7 separate regions of the Homo sapiens genome follow, and regions 2, 3, 4, 5, 6 and 7 are each linked to region 1. Evidence: promoter capture Hi-C in 16 types of primary human blood cells and fetal thymus (Javierre and others, 2016). All regions are on one chromosome and are shown on one strand. Each heading gives the region's core, a stretch centred on a gene start or on the middle of the fragment in contact. The rest is flanking DNA. Distances are from core to core; before and after follow the strand shown. Region 1 holds the start of DNAH2 (dynein axonemal heavy chain 2). Region 2 holds the start of TRL-TAG1-1 (tRNA-Leu (anticodon TAG) 1-1). Region 3 overlaps ALOXE3 (arachidonate epidermal lipoxygenase 3). Region 4 holds the start of TMEM95 (transmembrane protein 95). Region 5 has its middle 24 kb from the start of ALOX15B. Region 6 overlaps GUCY2D (guanylate cyclase 2D, retinal). Region 7 has its middle 14 kb from the start of GUCY2D.

Evidence for each region. Contacts are between HindIII fragments. The CHiCAGO score rates a contact against its expected background, and 5 or more counts as called.
Region 2: a fragment that was not itself captured here is called in contact with the fragment with the promoter of DNAH2 in region 1 in 2 of 17 cell types (megakaryocytes and M1 macrophages); the score reaches 5.9 in megakaryocytes.
Region 3: a fragment that was not itself captured here is called in contact with the fragment with the promoter of DNAH2 in region 1 in 1 of 17 cell types (activated CD4 T cells); the score reaches 5.2 in activated CD4 T cells.
Region 4: a contact is called between the fragment with the promoter of TMEM95 here and the fragment with the promoter of DNAH2 in region 1, in 1 of 17 cell types (M2 macrophages). The highest score is 5.5, in M2 macrophages.
Region 5: a contact is called between a fragment that was not itself captured here and the fragment with the promoter of DNAH2 in region 1, in 3 of 17 cell types (activated CD4 T cells, naive CD8 T cells and naive CD4 T cells). The highest score is 6.5, in activated CD4 T cells.
Region 6: a contact is called between a fragment that was not itself captured here and the fragment with the promoter of DNAH2 in region 1, in 7 of 17 cell types (activated CD4 T cells, endothelial precursors, erythroblasts and 4 more). The highest score is 8.4, in activated CD4 T cells.
Region 7: a fragment that was not itself captured here is called in contact with the fragment with the promoter of DNAH2 in region 1 in 1 of 17 cell types (endothelial precursors); the score reaches 5.3 in endothelial precursors.

What each region holds. Positions count from the first base shown.
Region 1 is chr17:7,715,972-7,719,382 of GRCh38, forward strand. It overlaps DNAH2 (dynein axonemal heavy chain 2), which reads left to right and starts at 1,773. Exons shown (of 86, transcript NM_020877.5): 1 at 1,773-2,828. The HindIII fragment of the contact is 13,987 bases long and covers 1-3,411 here.
Region 2 is chr17:8,119,786-8,123,196 of GRCh38, forward strand. It overlaps HES7 (hes family bHLH transcription factor 7), which reads right to left. Exons shown (of 4, transcript NM_001165967.2): 2 at 3,246-3,341; 3 at 2,558-2,645; 4 at 807-2,252. The coding sequence ends at 1,786. TRL-TAG1-1 (tRNA-Leu (anticodon TAG) 1-1) reads right to left here and starts at 610; the gene lies at 529-610. TRR-TCT2-1 (tRNA-Arg (anticodon TCT) 2-1) reads left to right here and starts at 1,140; the gene lies at 1,140-1,227. It overlaps TRQ-CTG1-5 (tRNA-Gln (anticodon CTG) 1-5), which reads left to right; the gene lies at 1-38. RefSeq lists silencers at 1-85, 456-665, 1,606-2,065, 2,286-2,395. The HindIII fragment of the contact is 3,122 bases long and covers 42-3,163 here.
Region 3 is chr17:8,100,803-8,104,213 of GRCh38, forward strand. ALOXE3 (arachidonate epidermal lipoxygenase 3) reads right to left here. Exons shown (of 16, transcript NM_021628.3): 14 at 3,313-3,411; 15 at 2,521-2,691. Among named protein-coding and RNA genes, the nearest start is that of MIR4314, 14 kb to the left of the region's middle. The HindIII fragment of the contact is 4,448 bases long and covers 1-3,411 here.
Region 4 is chr17:7,353,538-7,356,948 of GRCh38, forward strand. It overlaps TMEM95 (transmembrane protein 95), which reads left to right and starts at 1,619. Exons shown (of 7, transcript NM_001320436.2): 1 at 1,619-1,836; 2 at 2,049-2,105; 3 at 2,301-2,381; 4 at 2,492-2,512; 5 at 2,659-2,739; 6 at 2,855-2,942; 7 at 3,062-3,411. The coding sequence starts at 1,668. The coding sequence ends at 3,095. It overlaps KCTD11 (potassium channel tetramerization domain containing 11), which reads left to right. Exons shown (of 1, transcript NM_001363642.1): 1 at 1-1,407. The coding sequence ends at 104. RefSeq lists enhancers at 1,160-1,686, 1,687-2,213. The HindIII fragment of the contact is 23,288 bases long and covers 1-3,411 here.
Region 5 is chr17:8,060,949-8,064,359 of GRCh38, forward strand. No RefSeq gene overlaps it. Among named protein-coding and RNA genes, the nearest start is that of ALOX15B, 24 kb to the left of the region's middle. RefSeq lists an enhancer at 3,399-3,411. The HindIII fragment of the contact is 6,181 bases long and covers 1-3,411 here.
Region 6 is chr17:8,016,654-8,020,064 of GRCh38, forward strand. The region is part of intron 19 of GUCY2D (guanylate cyclase 2D, retinal); the gene reads left to right. Among named protein-coding and RNA genes, the nearest start is that of GUCY2D, 16 kb to the left of the region's middle. RefSeq lists a silencer at 82-262. The HindIII fragment of the contact is 1,311 bases long and covers 909-2,219 here.
Region 7 is chr17:7,987,041-7,990,451 of GRCh38, forward strand. No RefSeq gene overlaps it. Among named protein-coding and RNA genes, the nearest start is that of GUCY2D, 14 kb to the right of the region's middle. The HindIII fragment of the contact is 8,340 bases long and covers 1-3,411 here.

The DNA.
Region 1 (3,411 bases), core at 523-3,022:
ACAACTCTTCTGCCCTTTCCTTTGGGATGTACACGGTCTTGCAACCCTGGCTGTTTCTCTAGCCCCGAAGAGCCCCTGGGGAAAAGACCCCCATCATAGCTAGCTGTGGTTGCCCCGCCTTCGTCCCTTCCCCCTACCTCCACCTCTGTTGATGAGCTTCAGCAGCGTTTAATCGGATTGAGCAGTAATTAGCAAAGCGAGATGTTTGATTACCTATTTAGCATAATGTGGGGGGCTGGGATCCGTAGGCACAGCCACAGTTGGGGAGGGGGGTTTAAGAAAAGAAATGGGGTCTGTGCAAAGTTCCTTTCCCCGAGGGACCCATGAACCTTGCCCCTGAGGCTCCCCACCCCACGCCTCCAGCAAATTTTCACTCCTTTGGGACTTTTCCCTAGGGGTTCTGGCCAACCACATCACCTCTGTCTGCCACCCATGGCCTATCTGGCTAGAGGAACACCTCCACGTTCCATCTTAGCTGTGCTAGCTGTGCAGCTGGTTTTGGGGTGGGCGGTACTCCTCTCCTTCCATTCCTGCTGTCAGCAACAGGAGTCTGGCTGGGCAGGAGGAATTATTGGGGGTCGGGGGGAGGGAAAGGGTTGACACTTCTGGGAATAAAGATACGGTAGGTGGGAGGGTGAGGTCAGCGCTGGGATAGGGTGTGGTTAATCCACTTGCTCTTCAGGAGTACCAGGGACTGCCACTCCTGGTAGTGCCAGGCTGGCATAATGAGATCTGTTAGGTGTGAACGCCAAACAGAAAATGGGGGAACTGAGGTGCCAGCTTCTCTTCTCCTCATCCAGCAAAGAAAATGTCATAAATTTCGCTCCTCATGGAAATGTAATCAGTGGGCTCGCTGCTGGCTTTGTCTTAATTAGGCACTATTGATGGAAACAGGGAGGGCGCCTTCCCATCCCCCCACTCGGCTTCCTCCCTGTATTTCCCAGGTCTCCCCAAAGCTCCTCCCGGCACCAGGTACAGCGGTCTTCCAGGCGCCTTCTAGCAGCCCCGGCCCGCAGCGCCCCCTGGCACCCTCGGAGATGTACCCCGGCCCTCATAGCCCTCCCCTCTCGCCTCCTCTCTCACGACGCAGCCTTTGTTCCTATGGAGAGCGAAGCCCCTCCCAGGCCCGGTCACCTTCCCCAGGGAGTCCCCGCCTCTCATCCCCCCCAAAAACCAGCGATGCCTTCGAAAGCCAATCCTCAGATTCCCAAAACTCCAGTTCCCGTCTTCCCTCCCTTTCCCCGCCCCGCGCCGCCCCCCCGCAATCCTAGACCCCAATCCGAACTAAGAAGGGGGAAGGAGCAGGAGGGCAAGGGTGCTCCAGGCCCGGTTTTTCCCCCGGATCCAGCTGCACCCACGGCTGCCTGGAAATCCTGGAACGCCTTCTACATCGCGAATATCCCTCGCCGGCCTGGCGCCCGGCGCCATCTGCTGGACCCGTTCCGGCTGGGGCGCACAGACCTGGGCGCGGGGTCGGGCGATTGGGTTCTCCCTGCCTTTTCAATGTCCTGCGGGGCGGTGGCTCACTGTCTCTCGCCCCAGCCCTTCCAGCTGGGTCCTGACACCAGGCCCCCCGCACCCTTCGGCTCGCCAGATGTGGCTACTTTCCTTTAGTCCCGGAGCCTTCAAGCCCTGGGTCCCTGAGGGGTAGACCTGGGCGGGGTGGGGCCGCGAAGCAGGGATCCAGGGCGCCTGCGCGGAGGAGGCGGGCTCCGAGGGGCCGCACACCGGCCACTCGCCCCTCCCTGCCCGGGGTTGCCATGGGGACGCGTGCAGACGCCGGCCCGAGAGGGCTGCGAGGGGCAACTTCTTAGAGTGGCCCATCGGTCGGTCTAGGGAGGGGAGGGTCAGCGTGGCAAGGTGTGTGTCGGGGGCAGAGGGAAGGAGGGAAGGAGTGCTGGGGAGAAGGGGCAGTAGTGTCGGGGTAGGAAGGGACAGTTGTTGGGGAGAAGAGGCAGTTGTGGAGGGAGAGGGAGCAAGGAATATTTGTGTGGGGGAGGGGGAGGAGAAGGGGCAGTTGTGACAGCTGGGGGGGAAGAGCCATTCTGAGGGGAAATTTGCCTGCTGGTAACCAGTTTAAGGATACCAGCTGCTGGTATAAATACTGCTGGATAAATACTGCTGGATTTATACTGCAGGATAAATACTGCTGGCCCCTGCGGTATTTCCTAGTACTAGAGTGAGCCCCGACTTAGCAGAGCAGTTCCTCCTGGGGCCTGCGGTGTGGGATCGCGTGGTGAACCCCACGGTGCATGCGCCTCAGGCTCTAGTTTGAGGCAGGAAAGCGCAGCTTGATGCTTCTCTGGAGACTGATGGAGGAAGCCTCCTTGCTGTAGTTGGTTTTATTGATTTGCTGGCCTAACAGAACGTTTTTCCTTGGAGCAAAGTACAAATCCTTCAAGTTTGAAATTCATAACCTGAGATCAATGCCTGTGGCAGCCTGTGGGGATGAGGAAGGAGAGCCACAGGTGCCGTTAGGCTGCAGCCTAATGAAAAGAGAGTGCCCAGCGCCTCAGACTTTGCGCCTGGGATTCTGAGCACCTGTCCGAGATCCCCGCTTCCTGCCATCCTACCTTTCTGAGAGAGGCACCACTGTGACCTTCCTCGTGCCCCAATTGCTTTTTCCTCATGACACAATTTGAAATTTATGATTGGATGACTTTTGTCCTTCTTTCTTCCAATCTGTTCTCAGGGCATTTTGAGTCAAATAAATGATCCTGACTGATCTTAACCATTAGCACAGAGTTCCTCAGCCAACTCTGCTAAGAGACCTCAGTACACACAAAACAGTGTTCCTGCCCCTCAGGACTTCAAAGCGATAGACCCAGGTGGCAAATACTGTTTTTCTCTGTTTACAGATGTTGCAGATTTTAGTGGGATTGGGAGGAGCATATTTCCATTTAACTTGGGAGGAAAAGAGGTACATAGGAAAATCATCTTGGTTTGCTTGAATGATTGAACAGTGACAAAGGATGGGGGATGTGCACCCCTTCCTTGATCCTCTCTCACTCACTCATGGTCCTGGAGGGTAGAGTGGATGAGGGTTTGGGCAACCACACTTCAGCTTGATAGATCTTTTCCTGATTATCTTATGTTCTCATACCCCGGGGCAGAGATAGAGGTTCTAAATCCTCATTAGTGGGGTGTCTGGCCATCTTTTTTTTTTTTTTTTTTGAGATAGAGTCTCACTCTGTCAGCCAGGCTGGAGTATAGTAGCATGATCTTGGCTCACTGCAGCCTCTACCTCTCGGGTTCAAGAGATTCTCCTGCCTCAGCCTCCCGAGTAGCTGGAATTACAGGCACGCACCACCACTCCTGGCTAATTTTTTGTATTTTTAGTAGAGACGGGGTTTTGCCATGTTGGCCAGGCTGGTCTCGAACTCCTGACCTCAGGTGATCCACCCGGCTCGG
Region 2 (3,411 bases), core at 353-2,852, 400 kb after region 1:
TGAATCCAGCGATCCGAGTTCAAATCTCGGTGGAACCTTGAAGCTTTTCTTTTAATATCAGCATGTTGAATATTGTTAATTGATTTTCACAGAGGGGATACTCCTATGACCCAAGATAATACGACAAAAAAAAAAAGTAAACTAGGACACTACCAATTATTTGTGCTTTTCCTACCGGATAATTGAGTCCTATAACACAGTGTTAAGAGAACGTACAATAAATTATTTAAATATGTTGGAAGTTGAGCTAACATTTGAAAACATGTTAAAATAGAGATGTTATGAAGAAACGAAATAATAGAGATGTTATGAAGAAACGAAATATTGCTTCAGCAGTTACCATCAGGTCTTAGCTTCTGGGATGGATGCAGGCCTATGATCTCTCTGGAAGACCAAACACGGAAGATGATGGTGAAACCATTACCAGGGGAATTCGTAAAATTACTTTCTGCATGTAAATAGGTGTAACCTCACAGAACTGTTAACAGAACTGTAGCAGGTGCGTAATCCACCAGAAAAACTCCAGCCTGGCAGCGGTGGGATTCGAACCCACGCCTCCGAAGAGACTGGAGCCTAAATCCAGCGCCTTAGACCGCTCGGCCACGCTACCTGCACGAAAACTTACTGTCCCCGTTGTCCTCCTAAGAGACTAGAAGTAAGGAATGGGGCAAATCTTAAGAGTGCCAAATTGATTCGTCTCCTTTTCCACATCTTTTAGACTGGAAATGAAGAACCATCGAGACTGTGGACCGCATAGCAGCAGATGGCAGAACAGATAAACGAGAAGAGACAAAAACACACAGAAATTTACAACAAAACTAGTTTATTTGGGTGGGACTATATCTGGGAGTGGGGAGCGCCTGAGCCGGAAACACCCCCCAAGCGGGCAGCCGGAGCTCTGCACTCGCTCGCTCAGCCATTTTCGGTTGCTCTCCCTCCCTGTTTTTTCGACCCATGTGCGCCCTCTCTCTCACCTGGCTAACATGCTTTGCGCCCGCTACCTCTACCTGGCTTGGCCTCTGAGATCCAAACCGCGCCCTCCTGGCATGTCCCGCCCAAGTCCCTTAGCCCCGCTCCCCAACCCTGCCCCATTCCCACTCTAGTACCCGTAAGCTACAAGACGCCGCCGTTCGTCGGGTGGCTCTGTGGCGCAATGGATAGCGCATTGGACTTCTAGTGACGAATAGAGCAATTCAAAGGTTGTGGGTTCGAATCCCACCAGAGTCGATTTTATTTCAATTTTTCCTTTTTATCCGTTTTTTTCTTAAAGGCCCCCATCCCTTCTCCCCCTACCCTATCTCTCTCTTTCCACCTGGTTTCAATTTCGATCTCAGTTCCCGCTCTGCTCTCTTCTTTACTTACCTGTCTGCCCCGGGGCTTGGGCCATGGAGAGCAGGACTGAGGGTGGGAGACAGAAGGGAAGGGAAAGTGGGCGTGGACGTCGAGATAAAGGCAGGCCCCTGGCTCGGGGACACACGGGGATTTAATAACCACTTTATTCCATGCACTAGGGACTCGGGAAGGGACTGGGACTGGGCTGAGGGGCAGAGAGAGTACAATCCTAGACGCAAGGGAGAAGTTGGGGCAGGGAAAAGGGACAGGAACCAGGGAAATATATATTTATATAGATACTCTAATATAGACCACATCTCACCCGCGCGCTGAGCCCGCGCGCCCCACTGCCCTCCCCAACACCTGCTCGCCCGGACGCCCGGGTCCCTCTGCTGCCCTCGGGCTGGAGTCTCTACCCCACCCCTAGACCCCGCCCCCACCACCCCCCAAGGCTCAGGGCCAAGGTCTCCAGAAAGCGGGCGGCGGGGGCAGCGGGGCCTTGGGCGCCCCGTCTTGTCTGTGAGGCGGCGGTGGCGGCGGCAGCAGTCCGGTGAGGGGCGCCGGCGCGCCAGAATCCCCGGCGCGCGGGGAGCAGAGGGATGGGGACCATGCGCAGCGCGGGCTAGGGTGGCCCTGGTGCACTGGGGGGCGCTGGTGCAGCGCAGGGCCAAGGGCCGGTGCGGCGGGGTCCAGGGATGGGCGCGGCGCTGGAGGCCTCGGATCTACCGGCTTGGGCCGGGGCGGTTTGGGGCGCAGATAGCCGTGCAGCGCGGAGAAGAGCTGGGCGCGGGCGGCCGGGCTGGCGTCGTGCGCGAAGGCCGCCAAGCGAAGCAGGCACTCGCGGAAACCGGACAAGTAGCAGCTGGCGAGCGCCTCGGCGTCCTGGACTGGGGACCGGGGAACCCCTGGAGCCGCGGCGGCTGGTGCGGCCGGCGGGAGCACAGGTGGGCAGGGCAGGGGCCCGGCAGGGGTGAGGGAAGGGGCGGGGCGCAGAGATACCAAGGCCGGACAGGCGCACAGAGACAGGAAGCCAGATGGACGGAAAGAGGGAGAAAATGAGGGAGACACAGAGACAGACACGCGCGGGTGTTATTAACCTCGCCTCGGAGCAGAACCGGCCACTCCCCAAGCCCACCATCCACCGCAGGGCCCGCCCACTCTGCCCCGGCCGGAGCCTCCTGGCGTCCCCCCTCCCTCCCTCCGCTGCCCCACCCCCGCGCTGTACCCGGGGGCTCCACCCGGCTTCGCTCCCTCAAGTAGCCCACGGCGAACTCCAATATCTCCGCTTTCTCCAGCTTCGGGTTCCGGAGGTTCTACAGACGGGAGGGGAGGGCGCAGAGACAGAAAGGGGTGGGGAGAAAGGGGGAAAGTGGCAGGGGGAAGAAGGGAGGGACGGATGCGGGAGCTGGTGGTGCCCCCGATCGCATTTGCGCACTGCCCACAGAACGCGCGACCAAATGCGGAGTGGAGATGACCAAGGAAAGTCCTGGCCCACCCTGAGACGAAACTGTCCAATCCTAGGGGTTGGAACCAATGCCCAACGCGTGAGGAGGAGATTTGAAACCGCAACCCAGGGAATGAAATTAACCACCCGACATAACAGAGGCTGGCTCATCAGAGGCTGGCTGTGGGGGAGGGGGAACCGGACACTTAGAGACCCAAAGGGTGAAACTGACCGACCCCGGGAGCGAAATTTACAGAACCAGGCGTGAAACTTACAGACCCGAGGGGTGGCGAAGAAGATCGCGTTCTGAGAGCGAGTGGGGGTCTGGGATGGAATTCCAAAGGCGGGACTCGGGTGAGGATGCCTTGGGGCCAGGGTTGCCAACCAAGCTTGTGTCCCCACCCCAGTGGGAAGCCCTGGGACGCGGAAACGGGAAGCTTGGGGACCTAGGGCTAGCGGAGGGACTGACCTGGTCCCGGGTCCGCTCCAGCAGCAGCAGCCTCAGCTCTTCCAGGCTGCGGTTGATGCGGTCCCGGCGCCGCTTCTCCACAAGCGGCTTGAGCATCTGCGACCAGCGAGAAAAGGAGAGCGGGCCGACCAGACCGAGACTCAGTGCGGCCGCCCCGGCGTCGGAT
Region 3 (3,411 bases), core at 396-2,895, 380 kb after region 1:
CTGTAGTATAGCCATCAAAAAAACAGAACACACACACACACCAGAGAAAGAAAGAGAAAACACAGCAGAAGACAGAAATATGACACTGGATTCAAAGCCTACTTACTAGCTCTGTGCTGTTGAACAAATTGCTGAATCTCCCTGAACCTCAGTTTTCTCCCCTGTGAAGTGGAACTACCATTTATTGAACATTTATATGCCAGCACGGTGCCAAGCTGCTTTTTTTTTGTTTTTTTTTTTTTGAGATGGAACTTCACTCTTGTTGCCCAGGCTGGAGTTCAGTGGTACCATCTCAGCTCACTGCAACCTCTGCCTCCCGGGTTTAAGTGATTCTCTTACCTCAGCCTTCTGAGTAGCTGGGTTACAGGCATGCATCATCATGCCCACCTAATTTTTGTATTTTTAGTAGAGATGGGGGTTTCACCATGTTGGCCAGGCTGATCTCGAACTCCTGACCTCAGGTGATCCACCCACCTCGGCCTCCCAATGTGCTGGGATTACAGGCGTGAGCCACCACGCCTGGCTGCCAAGCATTTTAAATAGAGCTATGTATTTGGTTCACATTTTAAAATCATGTACACAAAGGATCTGATTTAATAACTGAGACATGATGGCTCCTCAGTGACAGCTGCCATTATTATTGTTGTTATAAATTTCCAAGTTAAACTTTCTATAGTTTATAGGAGAGAGCCCTCCACCCTCATGCTGTTGTCTACTTATCTGTCATCCCTCTGGGACCAGATAGGGACAGGACCCAGAGTCCTGCCATTCCCAGGATATAAGGTAGCAAGTTAAAACTTGCCAGGAAGATCAAATATGTGGGATCTTTCTTTTTTTGTTGTTTTTTTGTTTTTTGTTTTTTGTTTTTGTGTCACCCAGGCTGGCGTGCAGTGGCGTGAACATGGCTCACTGCATTTTTTTACTTCCTGGGCTCAAGTGATCCTCCCACTTTAGCTCCCCCCAAGCAGCTGGGACCACAGGCACACACTAATACGCCCGATTAATTTTTGTGTTTTGGGTAGAGACAGGGTTTCACCATGTTTCCTAGGCTGCTCTTGAATTCCTAGGCTCAAGCAATCCACCGGCCTCAGCCTCCCAAAGTGCTGGGATTGCAGGCACGAGCCACTGTGCCCAGCAACATCTGGAATCTTTCCAGCACCAAAGGGAGTCAAGCGTGAGAAATAAGAATATTCACCTGTTAGAGAGCTTGTGTGCAAGACGGCTGGGTGGAAACAAAGATGATGGGAACCAGTGATAAAGGGCTACTTGCCTGGCCTAAACTCAGATATTGGCCCCTCTCTAGCCTCCTGCCTCCAAAGTTGCCCTTTGCATCCATTCACGCAGCCACAGGAGCACCCTAGCTAAAGCAGATTTAACCATTGGGCCTCAGGCTTAAAAGTCTTGATTGGCGGCCGTGCGCGGTGGCTCACACCTGTAATTCCAGCACTTTGGGAGGCCAAGATGGGTGGATCACAAGGTCAGGAATTCGAGACCAGCCTGGCCAACATGGTGAAACCCCATCTCTACTAAAAATACAAAAATTAGCTGGGCACAGTGGTGGGTGCCTGTAATCCCAGCTACTCGGGAGGCTGAGGCAGGAGAATCGCTTAAACCTGGGAGGCGGAGGTTGCAGTGAGCTGATATCGCACCATTGCACTCCAGCCTGGGTGACAGAGCAAGACTCCATGTGGGGGGGTGGGGGAAGCCTTGATTGGCTACCCTTTGTCTTCTAAACGAACACTGTGCAGACAAAGCCCTACCTTCCTCTCCGCTCTGCTATTTCCATTTGTGATCCTACAAACACACCAGTGATTTCTCGCCTTCGCTCCTTGGTCCTGTTCTTCCCCCTCCCTAAAAAAGAGCCCTGCTCTTCCTCTCTGTCCAACTCCTACTTGTCCTGCAGATTTCAACTTAGATGTCACTTTCTCCAAGAAGCCTTCCTGGGTTCCCCCAGACCCATTTAGGTTCCTCAGGGCCCTGTCCTTACCCCTATCACTGGACTGTAAGCTCACATGGACAAGTTTCATAGCTGCCCATAACAGTGTCTGGGTCACCACTGGTACTCAGGAAGTGTGTGTTGAATGGAGAAATTAACATATAAGTAACTCCTACAACACGGTGGTGCCCTTTTTCATTGACCTGTATGTCTCCTCAACTAGACCACAGGCTTCTTGAAGGCAGGAAGGTCTCAGCCAGCGTTATAGGCCTGGTGCCCAGTGCTGTGTGGACACATAGGAAGTATCCAACAAATGTTTATTGAATGTTTGCATTAACACATGAGTAGTTGATGAATGAACATTCGGATAAATGGATGGACGGACAGATTGGTAACTAAACTGGTATTTGCTTCAGTCTATGTCTTTTGGGATTATCATTTTCTGAAGAAATTGAAGAACCCAAGGCAGTTCTGCAGTGAACATAAATCCCGTCGATCAGTCCTCAAGCCCCCAGACGAAGCCACCACCACCCCTACTGGTGGCCCTAAAGAACCCTACTCCCCTCAACATCCCGTATACACACCTGGTCCTTGGGTTCTTGGCTAACCAACCAGAAGAGGAGGAGGTTGTTACAGCTGATGTTCACTTCAGGGAGGGTGTCTAGGTAAGTCTTCAGGGTGGTGGTCCCCTTGGTCTGGGGTGGGGGCTGCCTCATGGATGATGGAGCATTGGGCATCCAGGCCCCAAAGTCATGCTGTGGAGACCCCCATCCCAGTTGGGTCAGTTGGCCAGAAGGGGAGTATCACCTCCCTCTTCACCATCCCTGATTCCACCTCTGCCGTCCTAGAGGTGATAGTTGGGAAATGAGGGGATCACGGAAAGGCAAGAGAGCTGGGAAATGAGGGGATCATGGAAAGGCAAGAGAGGAAAGGGTAGGGAGTGGAAAGTCCCAGAAGTGGGGCAGGAAGCCAGCTTACTCCTTGTCACTCCCCGCCCAGTGTTCCAGGACTCGGTGGGGTGAGTCACTAGGGAAGGAGGTGGCCCCAGAGTGGAGGTAATCCTAGAAAAGGGCCTTGGGTTGCCATGCCACACAGAGCAAGCTGCTACTCCACCTGGCTGGGTTCTAACCATGAGAGGAGCCCCTAAGTTCTTCTCCCAAATTAACATCAACTTGAATCACCATTACAACCTTGGACCCAGCTCCACCCAGTCATCACCCAATGCCAACCCTTCACCCCACTCAGCTGCCACTCCAACCCCAAGTCTAATCATAAACCCACCCCAACGCTGACCCACCCAAGCTCTCAACCCAAATTCAGGCCTCAAGTCCATTGCTGAGACCTGATGTCCCCAGGCCTGCCCTTTGTAGCCTCACCTGCCCACTGTTGACAGCAGCGTGCTGGGCAGAGCAATTGAAGATGATTGCAGTGAGGAACTTCACCATCTCTCCTGGGGTGCACAGCCGGCTTGGGAA
Region 4 (3,411 bases), core at 369-2,868, 360 kb before region 1:
AGGTGCTGCGGGTGGCTCTCGAGCACGGCTTCCGACTAGACTCTGTCTTCCCCGACCCCGAAGACCTGCTCAACTCCAGGTCTCTGCGCTTTGTCCGGCACTGAGGATGCTGTTCTCAGTTTGACTGTGGGGAGGAGAGAGAATGGGGTACTAGCACCCCTGAAGCCTCTTTCCAGCTCTGCTTCAGGAGCTATGAGAGTCGGGACTCTCCTGCACCTGACTGGAGCTCAGATGTGGGCAGGAATTCCCAAACCTGAGCCCACCAAGGACTCACAAGTGGTCCAGAAGGTCTCAACCTGTGCTGACCCTGGGAGGGGTAGGGAAGGTTCTCTCAGCTTGTTCTTGCCTAAGGCTGAGCACCTCCAGTCTCTCCTTGATTTGGAGCTCAGTGTTTAAGGGCTTGGAAAAGGGGGGAACATCTCTTTACCCAGACTAGACCTAGCAAAACCCTGGAAGGATATTGAGGTCTGGGGAAAAGGGAGGACTTTGCATTTTCCCAATGCGGTCTCTTGGACCATGGCTTCTACTCCTGAAGCTGGGTGGCCTGGCCTGGCCTGACCAATGAGAGGCCAGAACACTCTGGAACATCGGAAGAGGAGTTCTTTGCTATGTTCCAAGCCATCTACTGAGGGAGGCAGAAAGGCCACAACCCACCCTAGGTTGATGTATGGGAGCTAGGACAGTCCCCATGGCAATGGGGCTGGAGCATCCCTCATCTGGAAGAATCCCATACTGATGGCAGGGCTGGCCAGGGGGAAGAGGGTAGTATCTGTGGGTCCTGGCCTTTCTTCATGTGTGCGTGCATATCAGCCCGTGTGGCTGACTGATGTATAGGTCCCTGGCATCCTGGTTCATATCTGTGTTGCTGACTACAGTGTCTGTGATGTCCGCATGTCCAGGCCTGTTTGGGGTTGCCTAGCGACTCTTCTGGCACAGGGTGTGTCTGTGGTATACCTGTGAGGTGGTTGACAATTAGTAGTTTAATCACAGGGTGTGTGTGTGTGTGTGTGTGTGTGTGTTTATGTGCACGCATGTATATGCATCACCACGTAGCCAGGAGGGGCCTGTTGGGGTTTGAGTCACTGGGATCTTCCTGGTGAGAGGTAAGAGAAGTCACTGGGCTTAGCTGGGCCTCTGAGGCCTGTATGGAACTCTTGGTTGCTGAGGCAACCATGGACCTGTTGCTAGGAGATAGCTGGGGAAGGCCCAAGGCCGCCCAGGGCAGAGAGAGGAGACGAAGAGTTTGGGACAGTGGGGGAGGAGATGGGAAGGGATGGGATTTCTGGGTCCCAGAGCGGGTGGGATACTCACGCACAGCTTCTTCACTGGTGGGGGGTGGGGCACACATTATTTCTCACTGGTCATGATTTACAAGAAGAAAAATAAAACTGCTTTTGGAACCACAAACTTGTGAAGGCTGTTGAGGGCCAGGTTGGGGGTGCTGTCCCCTCACAACAGAAGCCCTGCTTTCTCTGCCCATCGCCTGCTGGAGATGCCTTCTGGACCCCAGTTCCTTGAGCCCCAGCTTTACCCCAGCTGAGGATGGGCAGTGCCATTGTTCATTGTTCTGGAACATTCTAGAACCTCCAGGCAAGGGCTGGAGCCAGGGCTGCAGAGCATTCCTCGGCTCAGCTGGGGCAGCGCCGCCCCATCCCCCAGTGGTCCTCATGTGGAGGCTGGCACTAGGCGGGGTTTTCCTGGCAGCCGCCCAGGCTTGTGTCTTCTGTCGCCTCCCAGCCCACGACTTGTCAGGCCGCCTGGCTCGGCTCTGCAGCCAGATGGAGGCCAGGCAGAAGGAATGTGGGGCCTCCCCAGACTTCTCGGCCTTTGCCTTAGGTAGGACCAGACATCCAGGGATGGGCCCAGCAAGCACTCACCCCCCTACCCCCAGAGGGTGGCATGTGACCTTCCAGCTGTGCCCTCCATCTGTGGCCCTTTCTGGACATGCTGGCCTTTCCCTCTGAGAGAGCTCCATATCTGGGAAAGTCAGGAGAGACCCCAGAACCTGGGCTGATGAGGGAATCGCTGGTCCTTGCCCATCTCCACAGATGAGGTGTCCATGAACAAAGTCACAGAGAAGACTCACAGAGTCCTGAGGGTCATGGGTGAGGTCAAGGGGAAAGAGTGACCTAGGGGCTTGGGAGGATACCAAGGAGAGGGACGGGTGACAGGGGTTGGGGTGGGCAGGGAAGGGTGGAGGGGTAGAGACAGGAGGGCTGATCAGGGAGGGGCTGCGTGAAGAGAGGGGGAACTGGCCCCGTCGAGGCCCAGGGAAACGGAGCTGCTGTCTGCCTCCCCAGAAATCAAAGAGGCTGTCTCCTCACTCCCTTCATATTGGAGTTGGCTTCGAAAGACCAAGCTCCCTGAGTACACCAGGGAAGGTACCGATGCGGGATGGGCCTCAAGGGGAGCCTAGGGTCTTAACCAAAGGAATGTGTGGTGAGCAGCTCATCCATTCACACCCCCACCCCTTCCTTGTCTTTCATTTCAGCTCTCTGTCCCCCCGCCTGCCGTGAGTAGGAAAGGAAAGGGGTAGCAAGGACCTGGGGCCTGCAGGGTGTCAGAGGAGGGCCTGGCAGCTGCAGGAGGAAGCTGGGTACCAGGCAGGGTGGAGGCCCGGCCTCCCCTCCCCAGCGTTGCCTCTGCTGTCTCCTGCAGGGGGCAGCACCACGCTGTACAACTGCTCCACCTGCAAGGGGACGGAGGTGTCCTGCTGGCCCCGAAAGCGCTGCTTCCCAGGTCCTCACGCCCATCTTGGCCCCGCCCCACCTTGCCCAGATCCCTGAGCCCTTGGGCTCCCAAGTCGGTGCGTGTGGGTCCCAGAATCATTCACTGCCTCCTGGGTTCCCTGCAGGAAGTCAGGATCTTTGGGAAGCCAAGATTCTGCTCCTCTCCATCTTCGGAGCTTTCCTGCTTCTGGGTGTTCTGAGCCTCCTGGTGGAGTGAGTTTTGGGATAAAGACAGGAATCCTACCCCGCCCAGTGCCTTCCACCACCCATCCTCCCTCCCTCTGTCCCTCCCAGGCCCCTCCCGTAGGCTTCCCACCCTCGTCTTCCCTCAGGTCCCACCACCTCCAAGCAAAAAGTGGCTTGTGAAGACGCTGAAAACCTCCCAGCCTCCAGCTCTAAGGGGTATGCACTCACAACTTCCACATCCCTTGGAGGGGAACCAGTCAGCCCCTTAGTCCCAGCTCCAAAGACAGTCTCCAGACCCTAAAACCCAGACATCCCTGCTTCTGGTTGGTGAGATAATGAAAAACAAGAAAATCCCCAAAAACCCAGATCCCCCACAATCCCAGTGTCAGATGGCCTCCCGGGAACCCAGGCACCCACAGCTGGAAAGTTCCTCCCCTCCAGCCCTCAACCAATCACATGGCTGTCAACAATGCCAGGAAAATATCTACAGAAGGAA
Region 5 (3,411 bases), core at 623-3,122, 350 kb after region 1:
TAGGGGACGTTAATTGGATAAGACCTACTTTAGGAATTCCCACCTAAGCAATGTCTAAACTGTTTGCTTTGCTGAGATGGGATCCAAATTCATGTAGCAAAAGAACTCTGATGCCTGCTGCAGCTGAAGAGTTACAAATGATTGAGGAAAAAATTCAAAGTGCTCAAGTCCGTAGAAGAGATCCTAGTGTTCCATTACAGCTCTTAGTGTTCCCTACTCTCCATTCTCCTATAGGAGTGATTGTTCAAAATGTTGACTTAGTTAAATTGTCCTTTTTAACGCACAGTACGACTAGAACTTTCTCAATTTATTTAGATCAAATAGCTATTCTTATAGGCCAAATACAACTGAGAATAGTCAGACTCATTGGCACCGATCGAGATAAAAATGTAGTTCCTTTAAACAAAGCACAGGTTCGACAAGCCTTTATTAATTCGTCAGAATGGCAGTCAAATCTGGCTGATTTTGTTGGCAGTATAGATATTCATTACCCTAAAACTAAAATGTTTCAGTTCCTAAAAATTGACTACCTAAATTTTACCCAAAATAACTAGTTCCATTCCTTTGGAGGGAGCCGTAACTATCTTTACTGATGGCTCTCAGAATGGAAAAGCAGCTTATACAGGACCGGAAGAAAAGATTATTCAAACTCAGTTTCATTCTGCACAAAGAGCTGAGCTACAAGCAGTTATATCTGTATTGGAAGATTGTAATCAACCTGTTAATATAATCTCTGACTCTGCTTACGTATTCCAAGCTGCCAAAATGGTAAAAACAGCTTTAGTAAAACATATTTCTGATGATCAGTTAAATTTCTTGTTTAGTTCACTTCAACAAGCAGTTAGGACTCAAAATTTTCCCTTTTATATTACACATATTTAGGCTCACACAAACTTACCAGGACCTTTAACCCTATTAAATAATCAAGCAAATTTATTAGTGACGCCTGTTCTAACAGTGTCCGGCCTCTGAGCCCAAGCTAAGCCATCATATCCCCTATGACCTGCACGTATACATCCAGATGCCCTGAAGCAACTGAAGAATCACAAAAGACGTGAAAATGGCTGGTTTCTGCCTTAACTGATGACATTACCTTGTGAAATTCCTTCTCCTGGCTCAGAAGCTCCCCTACTGAGCACCTTGCAACCCCCGCCCCTGCCCGCCAGAGAACAACCCCCTTTGACTGTAATTTTCCACTACCTACCCAAATCCTATAAAAGGGCCCCACCCCTATCTCCCTTCGCTGACTCTCTTTTCGGACTCAGCCCACCTGCACCCAGGTGAAATAAACAGCCTTGTTGCTCACACAAAGCCTGTTTGGTGGTCTCTTCACACAGACGCGAACAAAAGCTCAAAACTTCCATTCCCTAATTCATGTAAATGCTGCTGGATTAAAAAATAAATATTCATTTACCTGGAAACAAGCTAAAAATATAGTACAACATCCTCAGTGCCAAGTGCTACAGCTACCCACCCAAAAACCTGAAGGTAACCCTAGGGGGCTTCAACCAAATGCAGTGTGGCAAATGGACATGACTCATGTCCCATCATTCGGAAAACTTTCTTTCGTACATGTTACTGTTAATACTTTTTCTCGGTTTATCTGGGCTACACGCCAAACTGGAGAAAGCACAGCTCACGTAAAACGACATTTATTATCTTGTTTTGCAGTCATGGGTGTGCCACAGAAAGGAAAAATGGTCTGGTGGAAGGATACCAGAACCAAAACTTGGAAATTAAGAAAAAGTATTACTTGGGGGAGGGGTTTTCCTTGTGTTTCACCAAGAGACAATCAAACACTCATTTGGATACCCAATAGACATTTAAAATTCTACAATGAACCCTACACCGACCGGTCAGAAAAAAGGAAAGAATCAAAAGAGAAAGAAGACCGGTCCCTTCGACCTGTCTTTTCGGGAGCTGAGGAAAATGGTGAAGCTGAGCGTCTCGGAGAAAAAACAGAAGACGGAGAAGACTCGCTAGGCTACACCACTGACATGGGGACAGATAAAGAAGCTGACTCAATTGGCAGAGGACACCCTAAAGGAGAAACAACTAGCGATTACACCGGGTAATATGATCTTGGCTGCCTTGATGGTAATCACCACGGCGGTAAGTCTCTCTGCTGTTTCAGCTAAGCAAAATTTTACTACTGGGCTTATGTTCCATTTCCTCCTTTGATTAGACCTGTCACTTGGATGGACTCCCCTACTGAAGTTTATACAAATGGTAGTATCTGGATGCCTGGGCCGACTTATGATAGCTGTCCTGCATAGCCTGAGGAGGAGGGCATGTTAATGAATGGGATAATTGGGTATAAATACCCTCCAGTTTGTTTAGGAATTGCTCCTGGATGTTTGCCATTACAAATACAAAGTTGGATGGTCTACGTACCTCCTCATAATCGTTCTCAACCTAGTTATCACGTAGTGAGTGGAATGTCTTTTCAACCCATCAGGACTGTAAAAACTTAAGGGGATAGTTATTATCAGTCAAATATAAAAGTCCAAAATTGCAAGCCTAAGGGATTGGCTTGCCCTAAAAGGAATCCAGAATGGTCAGAAAAATGAGAAATTCTTACTTGGGAGGTTTGTGTGGCAGATAATGCGGTAGTTTTGCGAAATGGTTCTCATGGGGTCATTATAGACTGGGCTCCTAAGGAATCTTTTGCTAGAAATTGCACCGGACAAAACGCTGGGTGCGCTGGGGACTCCTTTATGATCGAATATAGAAATGATCCATATAATCCCCCCACTTTAGTTAGAAGATTTGAATCAACATACCCATTAAAGTGGGAAGATAAAGATACTGCTCCCCCTCCACCAAAAATTAGTCCGGTCGTGGGTCTGGAACATCCAGAATTGTGGAAGTTGCTTATGGCGACCTCCGGAATGAGAGTGTGGAAAGGGGAAGCGTCCTGGGGAACAAAAGGTAATAAGCCACTCTTTACTATGCCTTCTCCCTCTGCCCACTCCCCCGCCCCCCGAAAGGAAGACCTCCAGGTGACGCTCCCTGAGGACTCGGGCCAGGTGCTGCTGCTGCGTTTGCACAAGGCGTCCCCCGCCTCCCCTCCCCTCTGCCACCCCTCCCCCCGCCGGCCTCCCCGCCTCCCCCACCTCACCCCTACCCCCTCCGCCCCCCGCCCCCCGCCACGCTGCCTCGCCCCCTCTAGGTCCGGCCCAGACTCCGGGGTCTGCCGCTGGGTCCAGCTGAGGCTGCTGGGGACCCCCTCCGCTCCCCCTTACCAGTGGCTGGAGGGGGCAGGCAAAGGGCAGGGCCGGGGCTGCAGGAGGGGCATGGAGGGAGCGAGGGGGACCAGGGTGGTCATGGGTCAGGGGAGGGGGGCTGGTGTGGACACAGTGGGGAGGGGGGAGGCAGAAAGGTGACATGAGGGGCACGGGAAGGAGGAGG
Region 6 (3,411 bases), core at 314-2,813, 300 kb after region 1:
GAGCCCAGGCTGGTTCCTAAACCCCGGGGCTTCCCCTGGGAGGGAAGCAGCCATTGCAGGAATTTTGGTTCAGTAGATCTGGAGTGGTTTGGAAATCCAGGCTTAGGAAACTCCGTAATCGGGGCCTTCTGTGGCCCCTCCCCTGGCCCTATCTCATCCCCAGTGCATAAACCTGGCTTCCGCAGAAGCCTCACAGGCTGTGCACTGCACAAGAGACAACTCTAGGGGGCAGCAGTCACCAGAGAACAATGTGAAAGCAGAAGCCGTGCCCACTCCCCTCCTGCAAGAAACTGACCCGTGACCCGCTCCTTCCTAGGTGAACCCCCATGACCCCTTTCCTCGACTCCCCTCTGAGATACCCCTCTTTTCTTCAGGATTGTTCTGGAAGGTCCTTTTCCTGAAAGTTGCTGCTATAGGTGACTGGAAGTCTGTCTAATGCTGGTGGACTCTGCCCAGCTCTGCCTCAAAGGATTTTGGGCCTTTTACAAGAGCTGGTTGCAAAACCAGCCATGTGACCTTGGGAAAGTGTCACGCATGCTCTGCTGTGATCCCTTCAGTGGCAAAATGGGGGGTGGCCTAAGTGGTTCCCAAGGCCCCTGTGCACCTGACAGCTGGGTGGCTTGTGGCCCTCACCCCCAGGAGCCCTGAGTCCAGCAGGGGATGTGAGGGTCAGGGATTCTCCGCTTCCCAGTGTCTCTCAGGGACCCAGGAAGGAGGATCTGGGATTGATGCCCGACCCCAGAGGAAGTGGAGTTCTGTTCCACCAGAGCAGGGTTTGTCACATGGCCTGAGGGGGCAAGGGCTCCTGTTTAGCCTCAAGCTTCATTCCTATCTCCATCTCCCACCAGTCAGAAACTGGCTGCTTCTCCTGTGGGTATAATCAGGGAACTTGCCCAAGTGCAGAGAAAAGCTTGCTTCAATGCTTTGAGGAAAGGAAATTGTGCCACACCTTGACTGACCAGAACATCCAAAGAGCGGCATTCTCTGTTTAACTAGGAGCTGCTGAGCAAGCAGTTGGACAGAAAATCCTCTCTGCTTAGAATTTTTTCTTTTTTTTTGAGTCTCACTTTGTCACCCAGGCTGGAGTGCAGTGCAGTGACACAATCTCGACTCATTGCAACCTCCTCCTCTCAGGTTCAAGTGATTCTCCTACCTCAGCCTGCCGAGTAGCTGGGATTACAGGCACCCGCCACCACGCCCGGGTAATTTTTTTGTGTGATTTTAGTAGAGATGGGGTTTCAGCATGTTGCCCAGGGTGGTCTTGAACTGACATCAAGTGATCTGCCCACCTTGGCCTCCCAAAGTGCTGGGATTACAGGTGTGAGACACCGCGCCTGACCTTTGCAGCAATTATCAATGCCCTGTCCTGGCAAGTCCCCAGTTGAAGTTGCCTTTGTGAAACTCTGACCTTCCAGAGCCTGGGCCTTGGCACATTTGACTCTTGGTGTCTGTCACCATTGCTACAGACCCTGGAAGAAGTTTGCAGCAGGCTAGGAAACCACCTAGGCTGCCACCAGAGGTAGTGAGTGTCCAGTCCCTGGAGGTGTGAAGGCAGAACTGGAGACATCATTGACCAGGGATACGACAGTGAGAGGGAATTCCGGAACTGAACCTTCACTACACCAAGTGTGGTTGGTGGGCCAGGGTCGGCACTGCCTGTGAGCTCATTAGAAATGAAGGATCTCAGGGCCCCACCCCAGACCTGCTGAGTCTGGATCTGCATTTTAACAAGTTCCTACAAAATATTGACACGCTCATTAAAGTTTCTGAATCATAGAACTAAATCACCCTAAGATCTTTAAATCTTAGAATCTCTAAGATCTCATAAAGCCAGGCTACAAACTAGCCACCAAATTTCTTTTGTTTGGCCTATAGAGTGTTTTGTTTTGAGCTAACATTTAAAAATCAACAGCTTCCACATTTTAAAAATGTATAGCAGATTTCCCCCTTCTCTTGAAATCAGAAGCCCCACATGGTGCTTGTGTCACCACTTAACCACATTCTGCTGCAGCTAAACAGCAACAGTCCCCTTTATCCAGATGTCGCCACTCCCCACAGACTCCGAGACACCAAGATTTTTTGAACATTCCTTTATATTCCTGCCTGGTGCCTGTAGACATTGAGCTTAGGACTCCTTAGCAGGTATTAGGATTACAGGGGCTCCTGGACGGGACTTTGCCTTCTTTTTTTTTTTTTTAAACTGATTCATGACTTCCACAAGCTTAGTGGTATTCCCCTCCTTCCTAAAGGTGAAGGAAGAATGTATCAAACATCGAGAATCCAGCACTTGTAAGTTCTGGTTACCGAAGGTGATGTTGCTACAGAGAGCAATTTAGTGCAATTTTAAAAACATTTTAAATTGAATTTAAATACGATGAATTAAAGATTAAAAACAAAACAAAACCCGGGCATGCACACACACACATTTTTAAAAGTTATTTACATTCTTGAAGATTTTCCTTAAGATTTTCTCTGTACTTAGGTCCCAGGGATTGAAGCGCAGATTCACATCTCTGGCCTTGGACCTGACTGTGTGGATAGAGCTCTCAGCCTCCTGTCTCTTCCCTCCCGTACCCGACCCTGCAGCCCTTCCCCTTCCTTCCCTCTCTCCCTGCCTGCAAGGGCCTGGAGTAGTTAATGGTGTGTGATTTCGGCTGCCTCAAGGAAGAGTCCAGGATTAGGTGCAGAGGGATTAGCTGGGACAGGCTTAGGCAGGGCTCCTCCCGGAAGCAGAGGCGGATGAGCCAGAGGGCAGACCCAGTTTAAGGTAGAAGTGGAGTGGGCAGGGCTGAGCCAGTTCCTTCCCACCTTCACTCAGCCTCCTTCCCAGGCTGGCCTCAAGCTCAAGTGACCAGATGTGATAGAAGAGCCCTGACCCCTCCCCAGCTAGAAGAACTTGGGGAACCCCCACCCCAGAGTTCACAGATCTAGTGGGAGAAGAGAAGGCAAAAGATGAAGCCTCAGCCTCCTCTCTGTGCCTCAGCCTCTCCTTTCTCTGTTCCTGCCTCCCTTTCTGCTCTATTCTCCTGTCTTTGTGTCCCCACAGTCCCCTTTCTGCCTGGCAGTCTCTGTCTGCCTTTCTCTGCAGTTTCCACCATTTCTCTGGAAATCTTATTTCCTGGACCCAGTCGGTTATCCAGTCTCAGGGCTCTGCTGACTCAAGTCCTCCCCACCCTGTTCCTGTGGCCTGGGCAACTCCCAGCGCATGAGAGCACCGGGGCCTGGCTTGGTCACTGGGCATCCCCCACCTTCAGATGTGTTTACACTACCTCTGCCAGCTGGCCTGCGCCAGGAGCCCACACTTGCGGTTGTCCTTGCCTTGGAGATGGCTCTGTAGCTGGCAGAGCAGTGATGGCCAAAGCAGGGACCTCTCATAGCTGCTGCTTCAATCCCACGGCAGAGACTCTACAG
Region 7 (3,411 bases), core at 454-2,953, 270 kb after region 1:
TTACAACTGGCATTGCTTCAAGCCATGCAACATTGGGGAGTATTTTATTTCCTACCAGTAAATAGACAAAACACCTGATATTTCCAATCCCTCAGGCTTCCCGGATTCTGCTGGTTTTTGATGTCCACCCCCACCCGCCAGCGCTTGGATTTGAGCTCCCTCTGCTCTGCCAAGTCAGTCATCACTCTCCACTCTCCCCCTGCTTTCCAGAATGCTGAGTTCTCCTGTCTGTGCTCATTTCCTCCCCCGCTCTTCTTGTCCTTGTGGGTTTATGCCTTTTTTATCCCTTTATTGTAATTTTAGTGGGGTTTGGGGAGGGTGAAGAGATAAATAGATCTGCTTAATCCGTCCTGTTTAATTCAGTTTCTCCTGCATTCTTAACATCCTATTCACAGGATTCTCCCTCCACCTCCTTCTTTACTCAAGATCTGGCTCTGCTCACAGGCTCCTCCCAGACGCCACACACCCCAGAGTTGAGAGGTTTGGGGTCAGTGTCCTCATTCCCAGTGGTTCCTTGAGGGCCATGCCACTCACCTCTTCCACCCCGCCCCCATCCCTGGTGAATGCCATCATTCACTGAGCAGTGGGCACACCCTCTTCTCCATCAGCTCCCAGTCTTCTCATTCTGGTGACTTCACCATCCCCAAGATCAATCCAGCCATCAGCTTGGCCTCTGAGCGCCCCGAACTCCTCGTGTCACATGCTTCTCCTCTACCTCCTTCAGCCATGACGTCACAGGACCAAACCCCCACTGTGTCATCTCCCAGAGCTGCCTCCCCTCTGAAGTCACTAATTCAGGCTGCCTACCCAGCACAACGGCCAGCTAAGAGGTCCCTTCTCCTGTGTGGAGCTGATCCCGTAGTCTATGCTCTGCATCCCTTGTCGCGCCCCCACCTCCCGATGGTGCATTCCATCTGCCTTACGTTGTCACCTTCTCCTTCTCTGTACGGTTTATTTTACTTTATTTTATTCTATTTGGAGACAGAGTCTCGCTCTGTCGCCCAGGCTGGAGTACAATGGCACGATCTCAGCTCACTGCAATCTCCGCCTCCCAGGTTCAAGCGATTCTCCTGCCTCAGCCTCCTGGGTAGCTGGGATTACAGGCACCTGCACCACACCTGGCTAATTTTTAGTAGAGATGGGGTTTCACCATGTTGTCCAGGCTGAACTCAAACTCCCGACCTCAGATGATCTGCCCACCTCAGTCTCCCAAAGCGCGGAGATTACAGGTGTGAGCCTCCACACCCGGCCTCCTTCTCTGTATGTTTTCTGAGGGCAGCACCAGCACCCATTCACCCACTTCCAGCAGCAGAGCCTGATTTTGCCTCTAGACCTCTCCCTGTCCCCCTCAGTCCTTGTCATCTAGGTTAAACTGGCTACACCCTCAGCCTGGTGTGAGCCAGGCCCTGCCAATCCATCACCTTGCCTGGTGACTGAGATGGACTCGGGAGTGGACATCCGACCAAAGGCAGGCCAGTTAGTCAAGAGACTCTTGGATTTTTGTGGAAGCCATTAGGTAAGTGGGGTCTTTGCTGGTTGGATTTAAGTCTGGGAGGATGAAGGACAGCACTGTTGCAGCCGTTTTGCCACAATGAGGGGAGGGCCTTTGGGAGGATAAAGCCCAGCATAGAAGAGAGCAAAGCCTGAGGCCTGCGGCATCTATGCCTGAATCCAGCTGTGCCTGAAGGTAGCGCTGTAGCTCAGGTTTCCAGTTACAAGAACCCATTCAACCTTTCTGCCTTAGCCTGGTTAGTATTGTGGTCCCACTGAACGTACCATTCAGGAGAATCACGTTTAAAAGTGGCACAAGACAAAGACATGAATCTGAATACCTTCAGACATAGTCTACAGCTCCCCCTGGTGGAAAACATTGTTTTTTAGAGTCCAGCTACTAGGCCTTAATTTTTATCCACCACGTGTCCCAATAGTCTGTATATATCTAGGTCAATTTAGAACATCTTTTCTAGTTCAAAAAGCATGTAATTGCTGCTATTTATAATCCTGATCACAGCCCATTCCGGTAATACTTTGTAATTCAGAACTATAATCCCCAACGAAACATGTCCCAGAATCAAGCAGTGAATGTAGAATGTGCTAGATCATTAGGACTCTTTTTTTTTTCTTTTTGAGATAGGGTCTCGCTCTATTGCTCAGGCTGGAGTGCAGTGGTGTGATCAGGTTCACTGCCGTCTCGACCTCCTGGGTTCAATGATCCTCCCGCCTTGGCCTCCCAAAATGCTGGTGATTACAGGCAGGAACCACTGTGCCCAGCCAGGAATCAATGTTTATAATTATCAAAAAAGAGACAAGAAGAAAGGAGGAAACACAAAACCATAATGCGGAAGAATGTTAAAATCCGGTCAAGTATAACTTCATTGATTTCTGGTTTCAAGGATTGTACCCCACAATTGTCTCTTTTCTCCCCACACGTCATGGAAATGATCAGAAAGAAGTAATTGTATGACAGTTTAAAAAATGAACTGTTCCGACCTGGAGCGGTGGCTCACGCCTGTAATCCCAGCACTTTGGGAGGCCGAGGTGGGTGATCACCTGAGGTCAGGAGTTCGAGACCAGCCTGACCAACATGGTGAAACCTCGTCTCTACTGAAAAAAAAAAATGCAAAATTAGCCGGGCATGCTAGCGCATGGCGGAGGTTGCAGTGAGCCGAAATCGCGCTATTGCACTCCAGCATGGGTAACAAGAGCGAAACTCGGTCTCGGAAAAAAAAAAATCTGTTCCAGCAAATGATAAAGCTGGAGAGAATGTTACTAACAGAACTGAAAATCTGAGGAATTTGAGGAAATGTGTTCTTCGTTGAGAGCAAAGTCACGCAGTGCTGAGCTGAGCACCCAGCGCAAAGGAGGGGCTCCCTAAAGGAAGGTGGAAAGGTCTCCCCAGTAGAGCTCCGCCCAGCCCCAGCTCTAAGCAGCGGGCCCCGGGCATCAGGGTTTCAGGGCTGAGGAATGTCCAGCGCCGCCCGATCGCGCCTCGCTTCCTCCATCACTAAACCACCGGGGGACTGACTGCCCGAGGCTGGTGCAGAAGCGGGTGCGGAAGCGGGAGAGGGAACGCGCGTGGCGCTCCAGCCGCCACCCCAACCCTGCCACTTCCGCAGCTGCCCGGGCGCCGCTGCACCCGGACCACTCTGCGGTCTACCCGCTGCGGCCAGAAGAAGAGAGACTCCGGGGAGGGTGGCCCTGCCGCACCCTGGCCTTCACAGAGCAGGGGGCGGAAGAGCCCAGGTGCCCTCGGTGCCTGCGCAACCTGAGCCCCGGCCGCCTCGCGCCTTATCCTTGGGGCTCCCCCTGGCGGCTAAGCCGGTCCCTGCAGGGAAACGTGCCCGTTGTCTCATCTGCATCCACTTAGCACCAAGACGGGGTAGCTGAGGGGGTCGGCGGAAGAGGAGAGGG